Linked DNA regions of Homo sapiens: region 1 is linked to region 2. The links are contacts of gene promoters, found by promoter capture Hi-C in human tissues and cell types (Jung and others, 2019). All regions are on one chromosome and are shown on one strand. The core of a region is centred on a gene start or on the middle of the fragment in contact, and the rest is flanking DNA. Distances in the headings are between cores, read along the strand shown. Region 1 holds the start of PHF23 (PHD finger protein 23). Region 2 holds the start of SLC16A11 (solute carrier family 16 member 11).

Region 1 (7,106 bases), core at 1,367-3,866, 200 kb after region 2:
AAGGAGTGACTGGATTTACCCCAAAATGTCCTACCTCAACCACTAAATCCCACTGTACTCCAAAAACTTCTCCCCACCCCAATTCCCATCAGCATGTCCTCTTGACCAGTCCGTGTTACCTCTACCCTCAAGTCTGACACCTCACCGCTGCCCCTGCCCAGGGCCTGTGGAACACTGTATCACCCAGACCGGAGCCGTTATGTCCTTAGCTCTTTTTCTGTATAGCCTCATTTGTTACCATTTTCATCTCCCTAAAATTTATCCATAAACACCTTCCATTCACAGCACCTCAAGACTATGCCAAAATCTCAACCAGCGACTCCAAATCCCCCTTCCTTTTCACTGCTGTTCAAGCTAGCTATCCCGGCCATCCACTCCCCGCATACCAGCTTTCCTACCACAGCCCTAAGAGTCTCCAACTTCCCTGGTCTTACATATAATTTCTAAGGGCCTCCTTCTATAAAGCAATACAGTTCTGTTTGAACAACAGTCACTCTATAGTCCCACCACACCAGCCTCAAGTCAGTAATTCTCTTGCCCCTACCTCTTTGCTAGGGGGAATGTAACCAGCATATGCCAAAACAAAACTGCAGAATTTGTTGAAATCCTCAATTGTTCTCCGCCGTTTCTCTGGTGGCTGAAAGGAAGGAGATATGGATCACATGCAAAGCCACACAGTTTAAGAATGGCATTCCCAGAAACACAGTCCCTAAGTGAGGTCTAGAAAAGGGGGGCGGGGGGCGTTGTCAGGCAGGGCTACTAGGCTGCAAAGGTAAGGCAAACCTCACCTGAGTCTCTGGCTTAAGGGTCGGAGGTGGATCTGGAAAAGCAATAAAAGCTGAGTCAAGACACTAGGAACAATCTGTGTAAAACTCCCCCTCTAAACCCCGTTGTTCCTAAGTGAACCCCCTGCTCTCCCAGGTCCCTCTGCCAGGCCAGCAGGCCCCCAGCTGTGTTGGATCCGCCCCGGCTCCCCCTTCCGCCCCGCGAGGGGCGGAGCCTGGGCGCGGCGCCCTCTGAGGCCTCGCTATAGCGCTCCCCTTCCCCCAACCGGAGGCCCGGCGCCCCGCCCCCCCAACTCACGGTCTCTCTCGACTCCAGTCTACTCGGATCCCTCAGCGCCCCACCCCACCGTACCGCTCCCGGGGCCGCGTCCGGGCCGCCGCCAGCCGCCCCCGTCCTTCACACGCGCCCGGAGCCCCGAGTTCCTACCCGGCCGCGCTCCACCGCCTCGGGCCCTCCGAGACCGCACACGCCGCCCGCCAGCCCCCAGGGTCCAGGATGACCACGCCGAACCGCTCCCCGCCCTCCGGCCCCTTCTACTCGAGCACGCGGCCCGGCGCGCCCCTCACCCCCACCCCAGACACACACAGGCACACGCATCCAACGCTACTTCACGGCCGGGACAGACCCGGGAGCTCTAACCCGGACGCGGCCCCCACCTGCCCCCCCCCCCCCGCCCATACCGCGCTCCCCACAATTTCGCCGTCCCTCCGCCCCCATCCGGGGCTTTGGCCCCTCCCCGTCTCCAGCTTTTCGGGCTCCCCACCGGGCCCCCCGGCCCTGTTCCTAGCCCTCTCCGGCCGCCGCCCCCCCCTCCGCCCCCGTACTCACCACCCAGTTACTAGGCTATGGACCCCTCAACTCTGGCCCCTTCCCCCCAACCAGCCACTCTCTCTCTCTCTCCACAGCAGCCACCGCTGCTGCCGCCGATGCCCCCCTCACCCTCAGCAACTCCCAGGCTCTTAACCCTCGCGGACCAACCCTACCCCCCCGCCCGACAAGTCGCCGGTCTTAACCCCCCCCACCCCGCCCCACCACCCCCTACAACTACCCAGCTCGCCTCGCTTCCTGGCTCGCTCTCTCCACAACTACCCCCCGGTACAGGTCCGTCTGCCGTAGACAATACCCAGACCCCCTCTTCTCCCCACAACTACCTGCCCACCTCTCCGACAATCACCGGGCATTCTCCGGCGGCAACTACTCGGAGCTCCGGTACCACCGCCACAAACTACCCCACCTCGGCGAACTACCGGGCCCCTCACTCAGCCTCTTCTACGTCCTCCCTCCTGAGCAACTCTCCGGCCACTGGATTCCCCTAACCTTCCAGTTCCAGGGCCCCAATCTGCCGGTGGCCCTTTCGGGCCCTAACCCCCGAGGCTCCGGGTTTCAAGCTCCTATCCCCCGCACCCCCACACCGTCTGATCTCCAACTACCCCAGCCCAGTTTCCCACTCCTCTTTCTCCAAGGTCTCTCAACTCGTCGCTCTCCCACCTCCAGGGCCAGCCTCCCGACCCCCTCCCCGAACTCCCCCGCTGGGCTCCGGGGCTCGACCTCCAAGTTTGCCAATTGATTCCTCGCCCGCCCCCCGCCGGCTCAGCGCTCTGCACCGGTCGAGAGCTCACCTTCGGGACTGGGCTCCGCCATGGCTTCCAGCATCGCCCCCTCCCCTCCTCCCGGTCCGGCGCCCCCCTCCCCGGAGCCGGGGATCCCGGTGCCGCCTCTAGTGCTCGATGCTCCCACTGCTTCGCTCCACAGAAGTGTCCGCCTCAGCCCGGTTGAGACTCGAGTCCGCTAGCCGCTGCCGCCACCTCCCTCTACCACTGCCTCCCGCACTCCCGGACCGGGCCCCCTCCCCCCGCGCCGCCGGCCGCCTGCTCCCTCCTCCTCCTCCTCCACCTCCTCTCTCCTCCCTCCCTCCTCTTCTCTCCCTCCTCCCCCCGCCGGCGCCGAGGCGCAGTGCACCAAGGGTTTTGTAGTCCGTCCGGGAACAGCGGAAAAGGGACCGCATGAACCTCCGGAACTTTGATTCCCAGAAAGCCACAGGCTGGCGCAGGCGCACCAAGCCGCTCCCCTCCCCCGGGGAGCGGCGGGGAGACCAGGAGCCGGAGGGGAGAGCGGAAGTGCGCGCGCAGGCCCCTGGGAGATGTAGGCTGGGCGGGACCAAGAAAGAAGAGGAAGAAGGGATTAGAACTCTCGGCCACCATACTGCCTCGTTCTGCAGCTTCTTTCTCCCCAGGAGGACCGCCCCACTTCCGGCCTGCCGGAGAAATGATTGCTGGGAGTTGAAGTATTCCTGGCGATAATGGCTCCCGCTCCCAGTCTTCTCCCTCCCTGATTCCACTCTGCCGGATCCCACACACCGGCAAAAGTCTAGCCAAGTGACATGCAACTGAGAACAGCCGTTTTACTAGCTTGCACACATGAAAATATCTTAGTTAGAATGTTCTAGCAAATGTGGATGTTCACCTAAAGCAGGTACTTCGGAACTTTCTCCACAGGAACCCACAGTAAAAAAAAATTTTTTTTTACATGAGCATTTTTAACATTTAGTTTCACATGCGTGTTATAAAACTAAAGTTTCAAGAAATAATCCTCAGTATTCCATTCCATCACAACAAAAGCACCCTCTTTTTGCAGACAGGGAAAAGCCCAACATGAACAGAATAAACCAAAATATACTTCTATCCCTCCAGCTTGTACCCAGTACTCTTCTTTCCCCACCACTGAAACCCACTGACACCTTGGAAAGACTTAAAATCAGCGGGACGAGGGGAGCAACACAAGGCAAAATTCAGTTCAGCTTGGTGGTTTCCTCTTTATTGATGTGCCTCCTACCTTCCCCCCACAATTTCAGTCCCTTCCAACTACCCCCAAAAAAGAAGGTAGTGAAAGGAAGGGATTGCTGGGGTTCTGAGCCCCTTGGGCAGTCAGAAAGGGAACAGAAACCAAAACAATCACTGGATGTGACACAGACTGACAATCAAGAAGTCTACAGCAGGATGGGAAAGGCGGGCAGAGAAAGGGGAAGAAAGGAGAAAGGAGAGTTACAAGATGCCAACTCCACCATTACCCCTCCTAAGAGAGGCTGGAGAGAAAGCCACAAACATTAAGAAGTGCCGGTCCTGAATAAGGGAGGTGGTGTTTGAGCTTGAAGGAGGAGGAGGTCAAGAAAGGGGGGCCACCTCTCTCTTTGTAGAATGAGACCCCCCTCCAGCTCAGGGGCAGCAGCTTCACAGACCGTAGACACTTTCGTCACTGTAGGCAATGTAGAGAAAGAAGTCTTCTTCATGGTGTTCCTGGGATGAAAGCAGAAAACTGTTCAGCAACTGGGCTCCAGTAACTTAAACCAACCACGACCCAGACACGTTCTTCTAGAACCACAAACCATTGCCTGACTCCTTCACTGACTCCAAGGCCTACCACACGAGCAGTATAATCTCTGCAGTCCTGGGCAAAAAGGCCTCAAACTGTTTTCTGCTGCTTTGGAATGGGGAGGGGGACTGGGAAGAGTCCCGAACAGATAGTTTCTCTAGCTCACTGTTCTCTTTCCTTCTCTCTACTCCTACTGTTCTGTCCAAACCCCCAACCCACGGCTATTATGAAACTTTAAGGCAAGCCAGGAAGCTAGTCCAAAACTACTGATGTAACAACACTTTCTTCCCCTCACGCTCTTCCAAGATTCCTCTCCAAAGCCTCCACCACTTCCCAGTCACCATACCTGGTACAGCTGACCCATTGTGGCACTGGTGGGTGGAATGACATTGTTGACAAAGAAAAACAAGGCATCCTCAGCTCGGAGATGAATTCGCTTCCGGATCAAGAAGTAGAACTGACCAACTGCAAAAGATACAAGATGCAAGAAAGTCACAGAGGTCAAAAATGCCCTCAAAAGAACAGCTGCTAGGTGGAGCCTCCTCCCGCAGAGACTGCACTCCCACCCACAGGAAGCAAGCCTGAGTCTTGGATCAGGTTCCCACCTGTGAGATCAGAAGGCACCAGGTATTTCTTTTTGTCCAGGTCTCCTATCCGAGCTTTGGGAGCCTTTTCTACTATCACCTGATAAAGAGATGAAAATTAGGAGACAGAAGGAATGCAGCCCCGAAGCTGCACCTGTCAAGAACTCAAGAAACAATATTCCTAGCACCTAAATCTACCCCAGATTCATCTCTTTGTCTTTGTACACGCGGTGCAGCACTGAGTCCCAGAGATCCTGACCTCACTGACTGGAGCTCATTTAAATATCCAGGATCCATCCCCCAATAGGGCGTCACCATAAACAACTATCTTAATCAGACGGAGGTGACTTGTTTGGGTCGACTAGTGATTCAATCTCGCAACCTTAGCTAGCTGGGGGGATGACCATTTGAAGCTCAGGCTGTCAAACTCTCTAAGGCCTCAAATGCTAAGGTTTCTCTCTCCTGTCCACATCCCTCTCAACCCCACATCCACCACTACCCCACTCCTTTCATCCTGGGTCCCAAGGACAGCAGTTTCAGGCTCGCTGCCAACCCCACCACAGCCAGCAGCCTGATCCCTGCGCTGCCTGTCCCGATCCAAGGCCAGGCTGTGGCGTCAGCGTAAGCGTCCCGCGCCCTCGGCCCTGGCTACTGTCCTCACCGGCACCCGGTCCGGGTATTTCTTTCGGATCTTCTCGCCCTCAGAGCGGCGCTTCTCGAACGGATGCTCTTCTTTGTACACGAACTTCATCCTCCCGGGAACCGGGCTGGACAGGGCTGGGCTGAGGGAACCCAGGGGGGCCGGGACGGGGGGCGGCGACGACGGCGGCGACGCGCGGGCGGATTCAGCGGAGCGATCCACGAATTTGCGCCACTTCCCTATTCACCAACCCCGCCCCCGACTATCGGGGACTGCCCCCCCCGCTAAGATACGCCACTACCTCAGCGGCGCTAACGCTGCTAGCGTAGCACCACCAACTGACCGGCCCCCTCACGCCATTAGCGTAATCGCTTTGGAATCAATTTGTGGGCTACGCAGGCGACGTAGCAAAGACGGTTGGCTTTTGCTCATCGAAAATTACTCTAAACCTATTCCCCAACCGTCCCCTCAAGGAAGCTGGGGCTGAAGAGGAGTAAAAGATGGTAATCATCATACGAGACTTGGTTCTCCAAGTTCCTTTCGTTAACAACGTAGAGGAACAGCAGGGACAATTACAAGGTTAGCTATTCACGAACCGTGTTGCTACGCTGAAGGCGGCCGTTGACACCAAAACAAAGTAGTACCCAAGTGGCGGAGATGATCTCCAGAAATAAGAAGTCAAAAAGAAAACAGATGTTTGGAGAGATCTACAGAACGCTTAAGTGCCAAAATGAGTAGACCAATAGGGACTGGAGAGGAGGTTGGAAAGGTAGGGACTACGCCAGCGCGGAGGAACACTGCGGGACTTGAGTTAAATCATGTGATCTCAAAGAGGGCGGAGCGTCACGTGGCGGGTGCGCGAAGTAGGGCCGGCTTGGGAGGGCGCCGGGGAGGCGGGGCCGGCTGGGCGACAGCTGGGAGGGGGACCGACGCCTTCCCGGACAGCGGAGGTCGGGGCGCCAGCCACCTGGGGGCAGCGCCCGCTTAACCTGTCCACGTCAGTGCCCCGGACGAAGCCCGGTTTCTCCAGCTCTACGCCCTTTGGCCGTCCAGGTTTCTCCTTTCGTGCTTCCATAGCCGGTTTCTCCTTTCGTGCTTCCATAGCCTGCTTCTCCGAAGGTGTCCTTCCACTCCCCACCAGCGCGCCCATCCTGTCACTCGGCCCTTCCCGCCAAAGCATCTGGTGTCAGCATTATTGTATCCCAGGCATCTGGTGTCCGCATTATTCTATCCCTATACTCAACGCCACCTTTCCCCCTGCCCCTTGAGTCCAACAGCAGTCTCTTCCCCCTCTGCCTGTGGGACAGGGTGCATGTGAACAAAGTCCCCTCTCTTCACTTCCCAAAACCCCAGAGAAGGACCTAAGGCCGCTTTGGTTTCAAAGTTATAATGCATGGTTTAAAAGAGAGAAAAGGAAAAAAGACACAAAGCTGGTTACAGGTCTGAGGGAGTCTAAGGAGAGAAAAATAGAGGGAGAGTAAAGGGGGGACAAATTTAGGGAAAATCCAGTGGCCCAAAATCCCAGTATCCCACCCACAGCCCAGCCCTTGGAGCAGGAGTGAAGAATTAGATCAGTTTTGTACAAGAGTTTTTTAAAAAAAATCAAATCACAACAAAGCTGACTTGGCTTCTCTTTGAGCCTCCTGGATCACCGTATGTCTGTCACTCTGGCCAGTCCTGCCTCTTCACAAACACTGATTCGGCTCTCCTAGGCTTCCGCCTGTGTC
Region 2 (7,878 bases), core at 1-2,500:
GGCCCCCGCCTCGTTCGCTACCCCAGATCCCAACAAGCTCCTGTCACCTCCTTCACCCTGAATGACCCGGGCATCCCACTTCCCTCACCAGCGAGGAGGCCCAGGCCGAGGTAGAGATGCAGCAGATCGCTGGCGAAAGCCGAGAAGACGAAGCCCAGCGAGGCGAGGACGCCCCCAACCATCACCACGGGGCGGGCCCCCCAGCGCGTGCTCAGGGCGCTGCCCACGGGGCCTGAAAGGGGGCGGAGTCAACGGAAGACACGCCCCCGGGCCCCCAAACTCTCTCCAACACTTCTCATTGGCTGTTTGCCTCCCTCGAACTAATGGTTCTTCTCCTTGACCTCAAGATGCACTCTTTTCTAGAGCCGGTTGCCCTTTCTCAGGTTGTCGGGTAATCAGGTGGGTCTCCCATCCCTCCACTCACGGCTCCTCCTCCCCGTTCCTGTCTCCCGCCTCAGGGCCCCCCTCACTGGCTGCCTGCTGCACGGCCAGGGCCAGGGCGCTGATCCACGCAGTGTCCTGGGCGCTTCGGTCAAAGTGCTCGGCAAGGTCAGGGAAGGCAAGGCCCAGCGAGCGCAGCAGCCCGTAGGACAGCCCGTTTATCGCGAAGGCTGCGGCCGCCACCACCCAGCCCCAGCCCCCATCCGGGGGTCCGGCGGGCTGGGGGGTCATCGCCGTCTGCGGGGTGGGGAAACATCTGTGAGAGAAGCCTCCACGCCTGTGCTTCCGCTGGGGAGCTGGCATCCCTGAGATCCAGCCTCTGGCTGCTCGCCCGGGGTGGGCCCGTCACTCCGAGCGCGATGGCGCGGGGCGGAGGGAGCCGGAGCCTGGCCTAGGGCTGGAACTCCCGGGTCCGCGCGAGGTACGGGGACGGGGACAGCCAGATCCCCAGGCCCGAGGTTCCCCGTCCCACGCACACTCCTTCCCCCTTACCCGACCTCTCCGGGCGGTGCGGGGAGGGGAAGGGTGAGGAAGGGCTGGGCCCGGCTTTCTCTCTGCTTCCCAGGCGGGCGGGGGCCCCGAAGGGGAGCGAGGGCAGCGATGGAGCCCAACTTGGACGGGCTCTCTCGGTAAACAGAGATCACCACAGGGGCCTGAGCCACCTGGGACGCGGGGTGTACGGAGGGCGGGGGCGAGCTGAAACAGCCAATCCGGCAAGCCGCGCGTGAGGCCAGACGCCAGTCCCACGGGGATTGAATTATGTACACACACAACCCCCAGGCCCGGGGGAGGGGGGAGCGGCGAGAAATGAATGCAGAGGGGCCCTGCCCTACTCACACGCATGCACCTGCCGCCTGCTGCGCGCAGGGGAGACACGTGGATTGCAAACCCCAGCGAGCCCAGGGTCCACCGCCAACGCGTGGAAATAGGGATGGTCCCCAAAACCTGAGGGGATGAGTAGTTTTGTTCTCAGGAACGTTGCCGAGGACCAGGTAAATCTCGGATATCAATCAGATCACAGACCTCCACCAAGTGCCAGCTCTGTGCTTAGAATAACAGACCCCCAGGCCGGGCGCGGTGCAAGCCTGTAATCCCAGCACTTTGGGAGGCCGATGTGGGTGAATCACCTGACGTCAGGAGTTCGAGGCCAGCCTGACCAACATGGCGAAACACCATATCTACTAAAAATACAAAAAAAATTAGCCGGGTGTGGTGGCGGGCGCCTGTAGTCCCAGCTACTTGGGAGGCTGAGGCGGGGAATCGCTTGAACCCGGGAGGCAGAAGTTGCAGTGAGCCAAGATCATGCCACTGCACTCCAGCCTGGGTGACAGAGAAAGACTCTGTCTCAAAAATAAATAAATAAACAAAAATAAAATAAATAAAATAAAATAACAGGTCCTCAAGGACAGAGGGATGAAACACGACTCCCTCAATGTGAAGACCTGCAGTGTACCAGGCACCGTTTACACATGCTATCACTTCATCTTATGATAACCCTATGAAGAAGGTGTCGCTTTTCTTTTTTTTTTTTTTTAGATGGAGTTTCACTCTGTAGCCCAGGCTGGAGTACAGTGGCGAGATCTCGGCTCATTGCAACCTCTGCCTCCTAAGTTCAAGCCATTCTCCTGCCTCAGCCTCCTGAGTAGCTGGGATTACGGGCGCCTGCCACCACTCCCAGCTAATTTTTGTATTTTTTAGTAGAGATGGGGTTTCGCCATGTTGGCCAGGCTGGTCTGGAACTCCTGACCTCAGATGATCCGCCCACCTCGGCCTCCCAAAGTGCTGGGATTACAGGAGTGAGCCAACGCGCCTGGCCGATGTCGTGCCTCTTTTATAGATGCAGTAACTGAAGCTCTCAGGGAAAAAATGGTATGGATATTTGAATTTAGGTCTGTCCAACTGTGGACCTACAAGGAGAACAATCCCAGGACTGAAACAAAATCTGGCACAGTTAAGGGAAAGATCCTGGATACAGCTTGAAGCAAACTGCCCTGGAAAGGGTGGAACCATTGCAGGGACAGAAAACTTATGAGTCTAAAATAAGGGGTCACTGGGAATAGAAAGGATTCTTGAGATCAGAATCTCTAAACACTTAGGTTAGAATTTTATTTTTTATTATGTATGTATGTATGTATGTATGTATGTATGTATGTATGTATGTGTGTGTGTATTTATTTATAGAGACAGGGTCTTGTCCAGGCTGAAGTGTAGTACTGCCATTATGGCTCACTGCAGCCTCCACCTCCCAGGCTCAAGCAATACTCCACCTCAGCCTCCCGAGTAGCGAGGACTACAGGCTCCACACCACCATGCCTGGCTAAATTTGTTCATTTTTTTTGTAGAGAGGGGGTCACAGCATGTTGCACAGGCTGGTCTCAAGCTCCTGGACTTAAGCAATCCTTCCACCTCGGACTCCCAAAGTGCTGGGATTACAGTCTACCATGCCTGGCCAGGTTACAATTTTAAAAGCAAAGTAAAAAATCAGGTCATTGAAGCCAGGTATTGATTTTTTGAAAAACTTTATAGAAAATGTCCTTTTTTGATAGGTTGACATTCTTTACCTCAGCTCTTTGAATTCAGAGATGTGTTCTTTGGTTTAATTATTAAACAATATGATAGAACATTCAGCAACTTAAGTTTGGAGCATGCATCCATTGAGCCACATGATGGCAGTGTTTCCTAATTATTGGGAAAGAATCTGCACGTAAAGACAAGAAAAACAGCTTCTTAAGGAGCAAAACTGTAAACATAAAAGACACAGCATGACTATAGGCAATGGCTCTCCATTGCCTATAGACGGGAAAAATTACATTTCTCTATTTGTACAGGTCTTTTACAATAATCAAAGGTAGACCTAGGTTACCGTTCCAAACCATCTCCCCTCTCTCCCTTTTGCCAGCCTCCCATCAGCCACTGTCTTCTCTGCTCTGTGGACATGCCTAGCTTTTTCTCACTCCTTAATTTTTGCATATGTCATGCTCTCTGCTTGAAACGTCCTGTTGTTCATGAAGGTCCTGACAGACACACCTTAGGAAAGTGGCCCCACCGGTTTCCCCAGCCTGGAGTGCTGTTATGAAAGCCACCAGGGAGGCGGAGCCAGCAGGTCCTCAGCTACCGGGGAGGGCAGGGATCCCGCTTCCTGAGAAGGCTGCTGAAGACTCTGCTCCAAGCTAAACGAATCACTGTCTCCCCATGGTGACGCAGAAATGCAGGACAGTCAGAGCGAAGACCGGGCCCTCCGCATCTGGGAGTTGTGCTAAGTGATGCTGCGCACCTTCGCAGGATGCTTACGAAGCCAGAAGGGTATCCCAGAGCCTGGGACTAGGGCTGTGAAAGAGCACATTCCTCTTCTACCTCAGGCTCCCTATATTCTTAGCAAAACTTGTCATCTTTTGCTCACGGAGGTAAAATAGCACAGAGATTAGGAGAATGGACTCCCAAGCTAGATTTCTTGAGGTTGAATGCCAGCTCTACTGTAGGGTCTAGCCCTACGGGGCTTGGCGGGTGTTTTCCCCGTGTGCGGAGATGAGAGATTGTAACAAATAAAGACACAAGCCAAAGAGATAGAAGAAAAGACGCTGGGCCCTGGGAACCACTACCATCAAGACGCGGAGACCGGTAGTGGCCCCGAACGGCTGGTTGCGCTGATATTTATTGCATACAAGACAAGGGGGCAGGGTAAGGAGGGTGAATCTTCTAAGTGATTGACAAGGTGCAGCAAGTCACGTGATCACAGGACGGGAGGGCCCTTCCCTTTTAGGTAGCCGAAGTAGAGACAGAAGGCAGCATACGTCAGCGTTTTCTTCTATGCACTGATAAGAAAGATCAAAGACTTTAGACTTTCACTATTTCATCTACCGCTCTGTACTACGAACTTCAAAGAGGAACCAGGAGTACGGGAGGAACATGAAAGTGGACAAGGAGCGTGAGCATTGAAGCACAGCCCCACAGGGAGGGGTTTAGGCCTCCGGATGACTGCGGGGAGGCCTGGATAATATCCAGCCTTCCACAAGAAGCTGCTGGAGCAGAGTGTTCCCTGACTCCTCCAAGGAAAGGACACTCCTTTTCGCGATCTGCTAAGTGATGGGTGTCTTCCCAGGCACTAGCGTTACCGCTTGACCAAGGAGCCCTCAAGCGGCCCTTATGCGAGCGTGACAGAAGGTTCACCTCTTGCCTTCTAGGTCACTTCTCACAATGTCCCTTCATCACCTGACCCTATACCTGCCGGTTATTCGTAGGTTATATTAGTAATGCAACAAAAAGTAATATTAAAAGCTAATGATTAATAATGTCTATAATAATGATTGATAATTGTCCATGATCATCTCTATATCTCATTTGTATTATGACTATTTTTATTCTATTTTCTTTATTACACTGAAACAGTTTGTGCCTTCAGTCTCTTGCCTCGGCATCTACGTAATCTTTCGCCCACACTCTACCACTTAGTAACTATATGATTATGAGCAAGTGTGACTCAACCTCTCTGTGCCTCGGTTTCCTCATCTCTACAATGGGGGTAATAACAGTAGCTACCTGATGGGTTGTTATAAGAATTAAATGAGTCACTGTGAATACACATATAAGTAAGGAACTTAGAACAGTGCCAAAGTATACGTGTTAGAGCTCATTGCCGCTATTTTCTTTCTTTTTTTTTTTTTTTCTTTTTTTTTTGAGACAGAGTCTTGCTCTATTGCCCAGGCTGGAGTGCAGTGGTACAATCTAGGTTCACCACAACCTCTGCCTCCCAGGTTCAAGTGAATTCTCCAGCCTCAGCCTCCCAGGTAGCTGAGATTACAGGTGCCCGCCACCACACTCAGCTAATTTTTTTGTATTTTTATTAGAGACGGGGTTTCACCATATTTGCCAGGCTGGTTTTGATCTCCTGACCTTAAGTAATCCACCTACCTCAGCCTCCCTTAGTGCTGGGATTACAGGTGTGAGCCACCGCGCTCAGCCTCCATTGCCGCTATTGCTGTGAGTTGAGGAACCTGGCTGGACCTAACAGCACGGCAGCCCTTTCCCACCTGGCTACCTCTGCCCATGCCTCAAGGTCAAGGCACCACATTGCCCTGGTAAGTTCTCAGTAGAGCCACATGGGTTAGAAAATGTGAATGGCTATAAAGAGATTCAATGGAAATTTCTGCTTTTCTTCTTTCTTTTCCCTTAGCATTTTCCAAAGTTTGTGTGAAAATGCTGGTCTCCCTGCCTTAACTCTAAAAACAAAAGAGAAGGCCGGGCGCAGTGGCTCACACCTGTAATCCCAACACTTTGGGACGCCAAGGCAGGTGGATTACCTGAGGTCGGGAGTTCAAGACCAGCCTGACCAACATGAAGAAACCCCGTCTCTACTAAAAATCCAAAATTAGCCAGGCGTAGTGGCAGGCGCCTGTAATCCCAGCTACTCGGGAGGCTGAGGCAGGAGAATTGCTTGAACCTGGGAGGCAGAGGTTGCCGTGAGCCGAGATCGCGCCATTGCACTCCAGCCTGGGCAACAAGAGCAAAACTCCATCTCAAAAATAAAAATAAATAAAAAATAATAGAGAAGAAAAAAGTCAAAATAAGTTTTATTCATTCAGTCCTTCATACAAAATATTTATAGACAGCTACCGCGTGCCAGCTGCTATGCTTAGGGTTCGGGATACAAATGTGAATAAGATATAGTCTCTCCCCTCCCAGCCCCACAATCAAATCAGAGGATCATCACATAAAGAAAAGAATTCTCAGCACAAGGACGGGGACACATACACCGTAGAGTGGTGCATGGGAAGAACTGACTCATTCCTCTTAGGACTGCTGGGAGGCTTCACAGAAGAGGAGCCCCTTGGGCTGGGTCTTGAAGGATGAGTAGGAGTTTGCCAGATGGATCTGTGGGCAGGGGCGTTCCAGGCAAAGGAAGCAGCTTGTGGAAAATCACAAAGGCATGAACCAGCTTGGCACATTGTTTATTGTTTGGGGAGCTATAAATAGCCGCTGTGTGGAGAACCGAGCATGTGTAGGAGGATAATGTAGGATTAAGCTGCTGGGCAGAGGGTCCCGTCTGAAAGGCCTTGAAGGCCAGGCTAAGGATATTCCTCCAGAGGCTGATACTACTCCAAAATGTCCAATGAAGTAGCACTCACTAATACTCACTAATAATGGAAGCTGAATACAGAGGAGAGATGAGTCATGCCACAATCAGAGGCGCAAGGAGAGTTCGCCTTTTGCATGTGGGAAATTTCTTTGAAATATCTTGTTTTATGTTAAAAATTCATGCAGAATTTTTCATTCTACTTTTTTTGTTTGTTTGTTTGTTTTTGTTTTGTTTTGTTTTGTTTTTGAGACCGAGTCTCTCTCTGTTGCCCAGGCTGGAGTGCAGTGGCACAATCTCGGCTCACTGCAAGCTCGGCCTCCCGGGTTCAGGCCATTCTCCTGCCTCAGCCTCCCGAGTAGCTGGGACTACAGGCACCCACCACCACGCCCGGCTAATTTTTTGTATTTTTAGTAGAGACGGGGTTTCACTGTGTTAGCCAGGATGGTCTCGATCTCCTAACCTCGTGATCTGCCCGCCTCGGCCTCCCAAAGTGCTGGGATTACAGGCGTGAGCCACTGTGCCCAGCCCGATTTCTGGAATTCTCACACACAAAGATGCCAAAGGTGAGTGATGAATCACTGAATGAGAGAAACATTGAACAAAGGAGTCATTGAATGAGTGGACTCCGTGCCTGGTGCTCCACAGAATGCAGCAGTGGTACAGGAAAGAGTCGCAGATGGACCAAACCACGAAGGCCTGCCCATGTGGGGACAGCCCTCAAAGCAGATGCTGAGCTAGATGAAGTCTATAGGGAGATCGTAAAAGAGTGTCAAGCATGGCACATCATTTGCTTTGGGGACCACAGGATCTGGGAATGCGTCCATGTTTGCAAACTCTAAAACTGCTCTGGGGCTTTTTCATGGGAACTCCTGCCGGAGGTTCTCGGGGCCTCTGGAGTCTGCAGCCTCAGGGAAGCCCTGAACTAAGCCCCTCTATTTCCCAGCACCCCCACCAAGGGGCTCCCGCTGCAGAAGGTGGACAGGGAGGGAGGCGGGCAGGCAAGAGTGAGTGGCGTTACCCACAGGAAACATTCCTCTATTTGGGGTGCTCAGAAATATGAGGCTCTACACTGCTTGGCTCAGCTGATCTTGGGTTGTTTTTTGAGACTGATTTTCACTCTTGTTGCCCAGGCTGGAATGCAATGGCATGATCTCGGCTCACCACAATCTCAGCCTCCCGGGTTCAAGCGATTCTCCTGCCTCAGCCTCCCAAGTAGCTGGGATTACAGGCATGTGCCACCACGCCTGACTAATTTTGTATTTTTAGTAGAGATGGGGTTTCTCCATGTTGGTCAGGCTGGTCTCGAACTCCCAACCTCCAGTGATCCGCCTGCCTCAGCCTCCCAAATTGCTGGGATTACAGGC

What was found. Contacts are between HindIII fragments. The study calls those that stand out against the background at their distance.
Region 1: the fragment with the promoter of PHF23 here is called in contact with the fragment with the promoter of SLC16A11 in region 2 in 1 of the 25 tissues and cell types used here (adrenal gland).

What each region holds. Positions count from the first base shown.
Region 1 is chr17:7,236,841-7,243,946 of GRCh38, forward strand. PHF23 (PHD finger protein 23) reads right to left here and starts at 2,617. Exons shown (of 5, transcript NM_024297.3): 1 at 2,406-2,617; 2 at 789-820; 3 at 545-637. The coding sequence starts at 2,439. It overlaps GABARAP (GABA type A receptor-associated protein), which reads right to left and starts at 5,609. Exons shown (of 4, transcript NM_007278.2): 1 at 5,401-5,609; 2 at 4,761-4,839; 3 at 4,502-4,620; 4 at 3,168-4,079. The coding sequence starts at 5,490. The coding sequence ends at 4,014. CTDNEP1 (CTD nuclear envelope phosphatase 1) reads right to left here. Exons shown (of 8, transcript NM_001143775.2): 8 at 6,751-7,106. RefSeq lists silencers at 885-1,364, 2,515-2,694, 2,745-2,884, 5,482-5,671, 6,262-6,371 and enhancers at 2,218-2,867, 2,995-3,084, 4,766-5,317, 5,318-5,869. The HindIII fragment of the contact is 12,207 bases long and covers 568-7,106 here.
Region 2 is chr17:7,042,842-7,050,719 of GRCh38, forward strand. SLC16A11 (solute carrier family 16 member 11) reads right to left here and starts at 1,251. Exons shown (of 5, transcript NM_001370549.1): 1 at 934-1,251; 2 at 471-678; 3 at 89-232. The coding sequence starts at 672. It overlaps LOC124903909 (a long non-coding RNA gene), which reads left to right and starts at 226. Exons shown (of 2, transcript XR_007065598.1): 1 at 226-399; 2 at 3,341-4,739. RefSeq lists silencers at 598-657, 728-857 and enhancers at 3,940-4,009, 4,070-4,139, 4,210-4,259. The HindIII fragment of the contact is 14,065 bases long and covers 1-7,878 here.